Regions from separate parts of the Homo sapiens genome. Here regions 2, 3 and 4 are each linked to region 1. Evidence: promoter capture Hi-C in 16 types of primary human blood cells and fetal thymus (Javierre and others, 2016). All regions are on one chromosome and are shown on one strand. Each heading gives the region's core, a stretch centred on a gene start or on the middle of the fragment in contact. The rest is flanking DNA. Distances are from core to core; before and after follow the strand shown. Region 1 holds the start of PRRX1 (paired related homeobox 1). Region 2 has its middle 16 kb from the start of SCYL3. Region 3 overlaps KIFAP3 (kinesin associated protein 3). Region 4 overlaps KIFAP3 (kinesin associated protein 3).

The links. Contacts are between HindIII fragments. The CHiCAGO score rates a contact against its expected background, and 5 or more counts as called.
Region 2: a fragment that was not itself captured here is called in contact with the fragment with the promoter of PRRX1 in region 1 in 2 of 17 cell types (M1 macrophages and endothelial precursors); the score reaches 6.9 in M1 macrophages.
Region 3: a contact is called between a fragment that was not itself captured here and the fragment with the promoter of PRRX1 in region 1, in 1 of 17 cell types (erythroblasts). The highest score is 7.2, in erythroblasts.
Region 4: a contact is called between a fragment that was not itself captured here and the fragment with the promoter of PRRX1 in region 1, in 1 of 17 cell types (M0 macrophages). The highest score is 5.6, in M0 macrophages.

What each region holds. Positions count from the first base shown.
Region 1 is chr1:170,662,595-170,665,582 of GRCh38, forward strand. PRRX1 (paired related homeobox 1) reads left to right here and starts at 1,537. Exons shown (of 4, transcript NM_022716.4): 1 at 1,537-1,865. The coding sequence starts at 1,625. RefSeq lists enhancers at 442-969, 2,170-2,988. The HindIII fragment of the contact is 9,244 bases long and covers 1-2,988 here.
Region 2 is chr1:169,908,089-169,911,076 of GRCh38, forward strand. No RefSeq gene overlaps it. Among named protein-coding and RNA genes, the nearest start is that of SCYL3, 16 kb to the left of the region's middle. The HindIII fragment of the contact is 3,795 bases long and covers 1-2,988 here.
Region 3 is chr1:169,984,595-169,987,582 of GRCh38, forward strand. It overlaps KIFAP3 (kinesin associated protein 3), which reads right to left. Exons shown (of 20, transcript NM_014970.4): 12 at 1-96. Among named protein-coding and RNA genes, the nearest start is that of KIFAP3, 89 kb to the right of the region's middle. The HindIII fragment of the contact is 1,882 bases long and covers 609-2,490 here.
Region 4 is chr1:170,069,914-170,072,901 of GRCh38, forward strand. All of the region lies in intron 1 of KIFAP3 (kinesin associated protein 3), which reads right to left. Among named protein-coding and RNA genes, the nearest start is that of KIFAP3, 3.3 kb to the right of the region's middle. The HindIII fragment of the contact is 2,050 bases long and covers 495-2,544 here.

The DNA of each region.
Region 1 (2,988 bases), core at 287-2,786:
GTGAGAGAACTTCCTATTATCATCCCTTTTGTTATTTTTATTACATTATTTAATAGGCTCCCTCTACGGAACCAAAAATAGCCTTAATATGCTTACTTTCTCCCTGTACTCCGCCCCAAACTGTTAGAACAGCAGAAAATTTTTTTTTGGGGGGGGGCGGTTTGGGGGAAGGCAGAAGGAGAAGAAAATTTGATTGTGATGGTGGTGGATTTTTTCCAAATTTCCCCACAGCTGTTATCAAAACATGCAAATGAGATTTTCCAACAGGATCTTAAACAAATCTGGAGGAGTTAATGCCGAAGCAAAATAATCAGCACGTTTGAAGTGACTGTGAGTTTCAGTTTGTCTTTTCTCCCCGTGATATTATTGCAGGGGAATGATAATTAGACCTTTAGAAATCCAAAGGGGCTCTCTTGCTCTCTTCCCTCTCTCATTTCTCTTCTCTCTTTCTCTCTCTCTCTCTCTCCCTTCCTCCCTCCCTCCCTCCCTCTCTCCCTCCCTCTCTCTTGTTCCCTCCCTCTCCCTTTCTCTCTAACTCTGATGTTGGCAAAGGGGGTTTTCTTAATCAGACTGTTTTTTGGTCCCAGGGAAAGGAGGAAGAAGGAGATTGTGATGGAGAAAGGGGGTCTGTGAAACGTCAGGCACAGCACAAAGGCTTTGCCACGTAATTACAGGCTCCTATTAAGTCGAGATCTGCCCTCCCAGGGGTCTCCAATTTTCTTGTATTCCCTACAAAGCCTCCTCTGCATGCCAGTTTGTGCCTTTTGAAGTGCCAGAGAGCTTCTTGATCCAACTGAGAAGGAAAAAGGAGCCCAGCAAGAAGAGGGGGAGAGAGAGAAGGGGAAAGGGGGGAACCCACCAGCACCCTCCGTCGGACTCTTGAAGCCTTTTTTTTTTAATTCTTAATTTTTTTTTTTACTCTTTACAAAAAGTAAAGTGAGAATCCTGCTCTCTAATACATCTGCAAGACATCACCCTCTCCTCCTGAAACTTTAGTCACTCCTGAGAATCCACAGGAGTGCAGAGAGGGGGGAACACGTTTTCTTGAAGATGTTTTAAAGCTGGAACAAGCCTTCTTCTGTTGGTGCTTGAACTCTTGCCTGGGAATAACTTTTTTAACCTTTAAAAAAACCATTCACTTTGATTCTTCTCTCCCACCCCTTCTTCTCTCTTCTTCTGTTTGCCTAACTCCCCCGCCCTGCTGGCCTCCGCTTTCCTCTCTCCCCCTTGTTATTATTTTTAGTCTGTGCGTGTGGACACTTTTGGAGAGTTGGAAGGGATTTTTTTCTCCTGACTTGAACATAGGGTGACTTTTTAATATTGTATTTTACTGTGGATTATCTCTTTGGACCGCGCCGGACTTGGCCTCAGGAAATCAACCAATGCTGCGGAAGGCGGCTGGTGCACAACGCTCTGCTCTACAGAAGGGGGTCCCCCACCCTCTTTTCCAATTTTTTTTTTTTGGCCTTCCTCTCCTTCCCTCCCTCTTCCTCCCTCTCTCTCTCTCTCTCTCCACTACCCCCCTCTTTCTTCCCCACTCGGCTCCTCTCCCCCCTCGCGCCCACAGCGTTTGGTGTTGATTCGAGCGGGAAGAGGGGGGTGGGTGGGATCGGTGGGGGAGACCATGACCTCCAGCTACGGGCACGTTCTGGAGCGGCAACCGGCGCTGGGCGGCCGCTTGGACAGCCCGGGCAACCTCGACACCCTGCAGGCGAAAAAGAACTTCTCCGTCAGTCACCTGCTAGACCTGGAGGAAGCCGGGGACATGGTGGCGGCACAGGCGGATGAGAACGTGGGCGAGGCTGGCCGGAGCCTGCTGGAGTCGCCGGGACTCACCAGCGGCAGCGACACCCCGCAGCAGGACAGTGAGTGAGGGGCGCATGCCCACGGGGGTGTGTGCCCGGGACAGAGGGCGGGGACCCGTGTAGGGCAGCTAGAGCCCGTCCGCGGCCAGAAAGACAAGGTCCTGGGACCAGGAGAGGTGATGGCAGACTTCAAAGGAAGGGCCAGTCACAGGGGAAACCAGATGAGAAAAGCGGGTCTCGGCCGAGGGCATAGCCAAGGAGGACGCTGGAGAGAGGCTCCAAGGTCCGGGGACACTCCGAGGCCCTGCGGTCTCAGGCAGGGACTCTGTCCGCGGCGGACTCTCTTTACTTCGGCTAGGCACCGGCTCGGTTCATCCCGCACGCGGGGCGGCGGGGCTGGGCTGGGAAAAGGTCTTAGCGGGGTGCAAACTCAGAGAGCCAGCGCTGTTTGGGAAAGCAGCAGGTTAAAGATGCTGAGTCGGGTTGGAAGGGCTTCTCTCGGGCAGCGTATGACGGCTTGAGGGAGGGCACCAGGCACAGGGAGCAGGACTTGGCGCTGCTCAGGCTGCACTCTCCACGCGGGCACCGTAAGGCCGGGCGCGACCGGGAGGCCCCGAGAGAACGCCCGGCCCCAGACGCTGGAGCTGCTCTCTGCCCCCTGCTGTTGCCTCTACCGCAAATGGGTTTGAGACTGGCAGAGTCAAAAGCCCGGCTGGCTTGGGAAAACTCGGGCCAAGCAAAGGGAATGTCCTTTAAGGGTGAAACCTGAAATCCAGCCCCGCATGATCCCGCACAGGCGAGCTGCATCCGGGAGGCGCGAGCTTCAGTGCGGAGGCCAGTGTCACCTTAGAGGAGCTCTCCCTATTGGCTCTTAAACGCCCAGAAAAGTCCAGTTTCCCTTCCCCATCCTCACCGACCAACCTCGCGACCCATGAAAATCTCGCTTCGCTAGTGCCTTAAAAAGAGACTGCAATTGTATCCCCATGCCCCCAAGTCTGTAACAGACCGGTCACCCTGTTCATCCCAGGTGACATGTGGCCAGATATGTACAGATACTCCCTCTTCTCCTCGAGGTTGCAAGAGTCTGAACTTAGCTGTAAGTTCTCAAATGAGGCTGGTTGCTTTCTATGTCAGTAGTTGCTGGTTACCATTTTTGTCTTCAAATTTGGAAATCGTGGAACCG
Region 2 (2,988 bases), core at 156-2,655, 750 kb before region 1:
CTTGGGAAAAGTAACTATAGAAAGCCCTGCTGATGTATGTAGATACCAACTTGATGAGGGAGAGGTTTATAAATATATGAAATAGATGCTCTAACTTGAACCACAAGCCTATAAAAAGGAAAACTGGGACAATAGGGGTTATTTCCATCTCTGAATCCAATAGATTAGGGAATTAAATGAAGAATATAAAGAGGGTACTCCAACCACTTGGAGAGAATCTGAGGCACTTCCATACTGCATCAAGTGATGGTACACAACCAGATGCAGAAGAGGAAAATTACTTTTCAGAAAGGCTTGTGGGGTCCCTAATTGCATTCAGTTTTTCTTCTCCTTCCTCTAGCTGATGGGACTCAATGGATATATTCCCAAGGCAAAGAAGAAGCATTGCTAGGAGTTTTCCCTCCAATGAGGAAATGAGCTTGTCTGATAGGAGAGGATAGCTATTTAGGCTAGAATAAATACCTTCTATTAGTGTCAAACACTTATTTTGCAGGACTAGAGGCCTGATTACTCAGAGAGAGACTTGCATTAAAGAAATGGAAGTAGTACAGCTAGGTGTGGTGGTACGCACCTGTAGTCCCAGCTACTTTGGGAGGGTGAGGCAGGAGAATCGCTTGAACCCAGGAGGCGGAGCTTGCAGTGAGCCAAGATTGCGCCACTGCACTCCAGCTTGGGTGACAGAGGGAGACTTCATCTCAAAAAAAAAAAAAAAAAAAAAGCAAAAACAAAAAAACAAAAAGGAAGTAGTGGTGAAGGCAGAAACAGAAATAGGTAACTAAGAGACCAGATGACTCACATCTGGTGATGAACAAGCTAAGAAAAAAAGGCCTAAGATATAATGGACTAAAGTTATATTTACCCTTTGGTGACAATTTTGGCTACACTGTTACACTATATACACTATACTTTTAATTGTATTAGGGATGATGACAATATTTATGACCAGTTGTGCAACTCAACAGCCATTAGTGATTACCACTACGGCAGCTGGTTTTGTGTGTACTATATTGTGTGCTTGTAGGTACTCAGGATGGTAGCTTTTGCTGTTGCTACTTTTAGGTCAACCAATGTATCTGATGTGGAAGCAGAACCCCTGTGTCCTGTTGCCTGAACTACAAACAGTAATTGTAGTTACATTATAACATCAGCATCTGCCACATCTGCTGGAACAAATAATACAGATGTAGTATCTACTGGCACAAGAATTTCATGCTCACAACATCCTTGCTCTCCCATATAACCTGGACAGGAACCTATAACTAAGGAACCTATACCTAAACTATAAACAAGCACACAGCCATTTCAAGAAGTTTCATGTGGGAATTCCTGTGTATTTACTGGTTTCAGATACTGAAGATATACCTACCAGTTAATTTCCTATGAACTAGCAATTCTCAACCCTGGTTGCACATTAAAATCACCTGGCAGAATTTTTTTTGAAATAATTAAAAAAAATTTTTTATATGTCCAGGGCTGACTTTCAATACATTTCAGCGAGAGAGTTGCTCTGCTACATAGGAAACCCCAAACCCCGACCCAGAAGCAGGTCGTCTCTGAGTGATTCAGCGCCAGGTTCCCTACGAACGTGCCTTGTATGAAGGGCGTGGGGGTGGCTGCCTTTTCGGCTGCACCCCATTTCCCAGGACTAGGGGCTCTCTGCACCCGACCCGGTCCCGGTGCACGGCCGGGCAGCCCGTCGGGACCTGGCAGAACTTTTAAACCACGTGATGCATGTGTTCCATCCCCAAAGATGATTTAATTGGTTTGAGTTGGATATATATATTTTTAAAGCTCCCCAGATGATTCCATAAAATGCATACTAGTATAAACAACAGGGCCCATACTGCGAACTAGCGCAGTGGTTCTCAAAGTGTGGTCCTTGACCGGAGCCAGCAGCAGCCCCTGGGAACTTGTTAGAAATGCAAGTGGCTCACGCCTGTAATCCCAGCACTTTGGGAGGCCGAGGTGGGTGGATCTTCTGAGGACAGGAGTTCCAGACCAGCCTGGCCAACATTGTGAAACCCCGTCTCTACTAAAAAAATGCAAAAATTAGCCGGGTGTGGTGGTGGTGGGCCTGTAATCCCAGCTACTCAGGAGGCTGAGGCAGGAGAATCACTTGAACCCGGGAGGCAGAGGTTGCAGTGAGCTGAGATCATACCACTGCACTCCAGCCTGGGCAACAAGAGTGAAACTCCGTCTCAAAAAAAAAAAAAGCAAGTTTTTGAGCCCCATCTCAGACCTGCTGAATCACAAACAATTCCAGTCTGGCCCAGCAAGCCCACCCGGTGATTCTCATTTAAGGTAATGTTTGAGAACCGCTCAACTTGTGAAACAAGTTGCTGGTGTTTGAGCAAGCATCATTTTATTTCTACTAATGCACGAGAAAGACAATTATCCCCAACATGAGCTGGGACAGAACTCTGTGGTCTTATGTGATTATTTGCACTTCTTGAGAATAAATCAGTTTTCCTGAAAATAATGTTTGCTAGACTTCCATGAGAATGAAGTTTTCTTCTGGAGAGCTAAAATTAGCCACACAGACGTTTGTCCTGATAATACTTAAGTAGAAATTCTTCTCTTCCACCCCTGCCCCTGCCTGCGCCCCCCAACCCCTCTCACCTCAAGAAATGATTCATGGTAGGGGCTTCTGGCTGTGAGACTAGGAAGCTAGGGAATATTTGCCCATGTAGTTACCATTTTCAATGCTCTTCATTATTTGGTGTAGATCCATAGTTCATCTGGTATCATTTTTTTCTGCCTGAAAGACTTTAACATTTATATTGTGTGGGTCTGCTGGTGAAGAATTCTTTCTGCTTTTGTACCTCTGAAAATATCATTTTTTTCACTTTCATTTTTGGAAGATATTTTCACTGGGTGTATTAGGGCTTTCCACAGAAACAGAACCAGAAGGATATACAGGCGTTCCTTGTCATAAGTTGAGGAACGTCCTGAATATATATTGTTTTCCCACCATCACAAAGTAAAAAA
Region 3 (2,988 bases), core at 300-2,799, 680 kb before region 1:
CTGTACATTTCTTTTGTTAGCAGCAAGATTAATGCAGAAAGAAATGAGTTCCAAGTCAATTCGTTCATCTGAACATTCAAACAGCATCTTCATTAACTAGCAAGAAGCACAGGGCACATTTTACTCAAGAAACAAAGACAAAAAACCAAACACAGAAGCAATATTTTTATCATAATGTGTTATCTTAGATTGTACATTGGGCATAATATAATTATTTACATTTCAACACATAAAACTGGCAGGCGTTCACTGTTCAACAACTGGATGAATAAACAGTTAATGAACTCTTAGATGCTCAGCATTAAATATAAACTTCTAAGTACAGTGGAGAATATAAGAGAAATATTAGATAAAACATCTGTCCTTAAATAATTAAACATATTGTTTGGAAGCAGAGCATTCCAAGCAAAGAAAATAGCTTATGCAAAGGTCACAATGCAGGAAAAAACAGTACTCTTTGAAGAATTAAAAGCAAGCAAGCATTGTTGGTGAAAGGGAAACAACAGTTTTAAGAGATAAGAAGGTAAAAACCAGATCATGCAGGGTCTTGAAGTACATGTTAAAGATTTTGGCCTTCGTGCTAAGAAGGATAATGGGAAGCTGCTAAAAGCTTCTAAATAGGAAAGTGTCAGGATAAAATTTGTGTCTCAAAAAGATTTACCCAGTGTAGAAAATAGAATAAAATTGCAAGAAAATATGGGGAACCAGGTAGGATGCTAGAGGAAAAGTCCAAGTGAGAAGATGGGTGTCTGAACTAGGTAGAGATAAAAGGATTGATTAGACATATATTTAGAAAACAGAACCAAAATGGAATGTAGTAACTGACTAGATGTTATGGTTAAAGGAGTGGAGGAGTCAAAGATGACTTCTGGATTTATGCACTGAGAAATGACATACATGGTGCTGCCAACATCTACCGAAAAGGAGAAACTAGGGTAGAAAAAAACTTTAAAGGAAAGATAGTAATTTTGGTTTTAGATATGTTGAGTTTAAGCTGCTTATGTGATAGTCTAGTGCAGGTATTCAGTAGGAAGTCATAAACACAGGCCTGAGTTTAGAAGAAATGTCTGGACTAGAGGTATAATTTTAGGAACTGGCATATATGGTTGAAAACTGAAGCTGCAGGCTAAATCCAATCACTTGGGCATGGGTATAAAATGAGAAAAAAACATTTTTAGTGATAAGAGAAAAAGAAAGAGGGTCTGAAAAACAACAGACAAAAAGGTAAGAAGGAAAAGGTAGGCTACCTATGCCATTTAGCAGTAATCTAGATTTGTCATGGTGAGAAACAGCTGCTATAATAAAGGACAAATGAACAAATTTTATGCTATGTTTTGGAGAAGCTAGTCTTCTATTATTGTCAAATCAGCAAATTAACTTAGTGTATAGTACATAAAGAGAGTTTTTTCTCAGCCCAAATTGTTAACAACAAATAGAAGTTATTCCTAAAATTTATAATATAAAAACTTACTATGTTTTATCTCAGGGCAATACCTTTTTAGAACATGTTGGATTCATGCCTTCATGAATCCAACACAGCGAATAATAAATATTTATTTATTTTAGACCTCTTTCTGTTAAATCTTGTTTTGATTACTGTTAGTTCAAGATGACTTCTGCATTTCAAAAATGATATGTGGTCAATATACAAAAATCAATCACATTTCTATGTGTTAGCAATGAACAGCTGAAAACCAAAATTAAATTTGGTTAAATTAAATTAAATAAAAAACACAATACCACTCAAATTGTTAGGTATAATTCTAAGCAAATACACTGATCTGTATGCTGAAAATTACAAAACACTGTAGCAGGTGAACGGCTGGCATGTATCATATGCTCCCCTTGAGGGCAGATCTTTAACCACAAATATTACCACTGATAGTATCTCTGGGTAAGAATCATTAATACTTAATAATGCCACAGAATAAAAAAAGATTCAAGGGCAAAAGTAAAATAATCTTAATTTACTGGATATATATTTAACAGATTTCACTACCTATCTGCCCAATAAAAATTAAATTACAAATAAAATTGCCAATAAAAATTAAATTACAAATTACCAAAAATGTAGGTGACAATCCTCTAATTAATTGCTATGTTTTCTAAACTGTAATTAAAAACCTACCATAGATTTTTTTCAATCTGAGAATCGGTTACATTGAAGCAATGTTTCAAGCAAAGTATTTATTGCTAACAAAAAGTATTTACTTCAAATCAACCTTTGTAGTATGAAAATTAGCCTTAAACACAGGGCTACAGGTCATTATTTTAGAAGGTAAATTTTCTCTAAAGTAATTTCCATATTAAATTCTACCTAGAAATAAACAATCAGAAACTAGATTTTTAGAAAATAATGCATGGCTCGAAAACTTACTCAACTCCCATTCCCCATATCGAGCTAAATTAGGACTAAATATAAATGGAATGCATAATGATATAGAATTAGTTTTTCATAATAAGAGAGATAAACATTTCAATTTTAATTAAAGCTTTCAAATTTAAAAAAGCAATGTTTAGTTCAAACTCCACATGAAAGAGTATGTCTTTAATTTGATTGCTATGATGGCACTTCAAAAGTAAGTGTAATTGCTGACAACTAGAAAATATTAAAACTAGATTTGTTCTGTTTTAACTATGTCCATTGTCATCTTTTACTAATTTACCAGAAAAGCACTAAAAGGGCTTCAGTCTGTGCGATGAAGAGGCAATAGTGTTCAATCAGACAAGTCCCATATTGAGTATCAGATACCAAAGACCCATGACTGAAATCACTGTGTCTAGACTCTCTGGCACCTGACTTCACTTATTTACCACTGACCAGAGGCCAACCCCCACAGCTCTCTGTATTCACATATAACTCTACCACCCCCATCCCCTACCCAAACATCTTTGAATGATTATACCAGAACTTTGCATGCCTCCGGAATCTCTTCTGACTGGCTACTCCCTAACTCTCCTGTTTGAAGTGATGCTCTGGTTTCTGAA
Region 4 (2,988 bases), core at 270-2,769, 590 kb before region 1:
TAGAAAATTCTAAAAATGGCACAAAAAACTGGCTAGAGCTAATAAATTCAGCAAAGTTGGAGAATAGATCAGAACACACCAAAAAAATCCACTGTTTTTCTACATATTGGAGCTGAAAAATATGAAAAGGAAATTTAGAAAACTTCATTTCCAATAGCATCAAAAAGAATAAAATACTCAGGAGTAAACGTAACCAAGGAACAACTGTATACTGAAAACAAAAAGTTGCTGAAAGAAATTAATATGAACTAAATGAAAAGAAATCACATGTTCATGGACTGAAGGACTTAATATTGTTAAGATGGCAATATTCCCCAAAGTGATCTATAGATTCATTATATTCCCAAAGTTTCAATAGCTTTTTTTGCAGAAATGAAAAAGCCAACCCTAAAATTCAAATGGAAATATAAGGAACCCTAAATAGCTGAAACAACCTTGAAAAAGAACAACAAAGTTGGAGGACTCACACTTCTGGATTTCAAAACTCACTACAAAGCTTCAGTAATCAAAACAGTGAGGTACTAGCACACGGACAGATAGATCAATGAAATATAATTGAGAGTGCAGGAATAAACCCCAACATTTTTGGTCATTTAATTTTCAAAAAAATTGCCCAAACCATTCATGGAGGAAAAGAACAGTCAATTGTTCTTTTCTGACATTTGTTCTGACAAATGATGTCAGAACAACTAGATAGTCACATATAAAAGAATGAAGATGGACCCTTGCCATATACCATAGACAATAACTAACTCGAGATGGATCAAGGATATTAAATGTAAAAGCTAAAACTGTAAAACTCTTAGAAGAAAACAGAGGGACAAACCTTCATGACCTTGGATTTAGCAGTGGTTTCTTAAATAACGATGCCAAAAGCATGAGCAACAAAAGAATAAATTAGACTTCACCAAAATTAAAAATGTTTGCATATGAAAGTTTTACATACCAAGATAGTGCAAAGAAAACCCACAGAATGGGACAAAGTATCTGTAAATCATGTATCTGACAAGGTTCTATTACAAAGAACTCCTTTTCCCAAAGAATAAAGACAAATGGCCAAGAAGCACATGAAAAGCTCAATGTCATTAGTAATTAGGGAAAGGCAAATCAATACCAAAATAAGATACCATTTGATATCCACTAGTATAGTAATAATTACAGAACAGAAAATAACAGGTGTTAGTGAGGATACGGAAAACTGAATTCTTATACATTGCTGGTGGGAATGTAAAATGGTGCAGTCACTAGGGAAAACACTTTAGTGGTTCCTCAATGAATTAAACATAGAATTACCATATGGTCTGGCAATTCCAGGCCTAGGTATACACCAAAAGATACAAAACAAGTGTTCAAACAAAAACTTGTACAGTAATGTTCACAGCAGCTTTATTCCCAATAGCCAATAGGTAGAAACAACCCAAATGTCCACCACCAGATGAGCAATAAACAAACAAAATGTGGTATATCCATAAAATGGAATACTGAATTAGTCAATTTTATGTTGCTATAACACAATACCTGAGACTAGGTAATTTATAAGGAAAAGGGGTTTATTTAGCTTACAGTTCCGCAGGCTGGGAAGTTCAAGGGCATGACTCTGGCTTCCAGTGAGGGCTTTTGTGCTTCATTATAACACAGTGGACAAGATCAAAGGGGAAGTGAGAAAAGAGAATACCCAAGGGTCTTCCTGGCTTTATAACAACCAACTCTAGAGGGAACTAATCCATTCCCAAGAGAGCTAATCCAGTCTCACTAGAGCAAGAATTCACTCACTCCAGCAAGAACAGCACCAAGCCATTCATGAGGGATCCACCCCCAAAACTGAAACACCTCCCAGGCTCCAGCTCCCAACACTGCCACAATGGGGGACCAAGTTTTAACATGAGCTTTGGTGGAAACGAACTATATCCAAACCACAGCAAATATTATGCAGCTATATAAAGGAATGAAGTACTGATACATGCTACCACACAGATGGACCTTGATATACCATGTGAGAAATGCTTGACACAAAAGCCACACACTTTTTTCATATAGCACTCATAAATACAATAAATATCAGTATATTTTAAAGTCTGTATTACTTGCTAGAGTGTAAATGCCATGAAGGCAGGGAATATATTTATGTTTCATTTACCAAATATGTTTTATCACTTGGCTTAATGACTTTTACACAGTAGAATCTCAACTATTAAATGAATGAACAAATGTTGTTCACTTTTAATATCCTTCAATAGTTCACCAATGCACTCAAAATAAAGTCTCAACTCTTTACTAAAGCGCTTAAGTCCCATATGATTTGGCTCATATTTCTTTCTAGTCTTATTCTGACTTTACTTAATAATCTATGTTTCAGGCACCTTGCTGAGTGCTGGGAATACAATGGGAAGTAAGATAGACACATAGCACCTACCTTTATGAACTTTATAAACCAGAAGGAAATATAAAGTAGTAAGTTTAGGGAAAAACAAGGTATTAAGTATCATGAGACCCTAACAGGTATACCTGACCTGGATTGTGAGGTGGGAAAGGGAAGTTCAGGAAAGCTTTCTGGAAAAAGTGGTATTTATGTCAAAACAGGAAAGATGAGGAATTAGCGGGGCAAAGAACAGGGCAAGTTCCAGATAAAGGAAGGGCATGTAAGAATCAAACACCAAAACACATAGAGATTCAAAAAAAATTATTTTTGTAAAACCAAAATATGGAATTACTCAGGTAGGAAGGGACTGAAAATATACTGCTATCTGCTGTCTTGTTAAAAACAAAATATAAAAGTAAAAATATTGTTAAAGAATATATGTAATCATGGTCAAAAAACAATAATTAAAATTGAAGGTTCTATCAGACATCACAAATGTTTTCCATCAGGCCTGTATAAATACATGTCTCCTGTATGCTTCTAGTCTGAAAACAGACAATTCAAACTTTTTATTATTTATAGTAAAAATTAGATGAAATTGAGAAATGTATTTTTCAACCTTTTCAGAC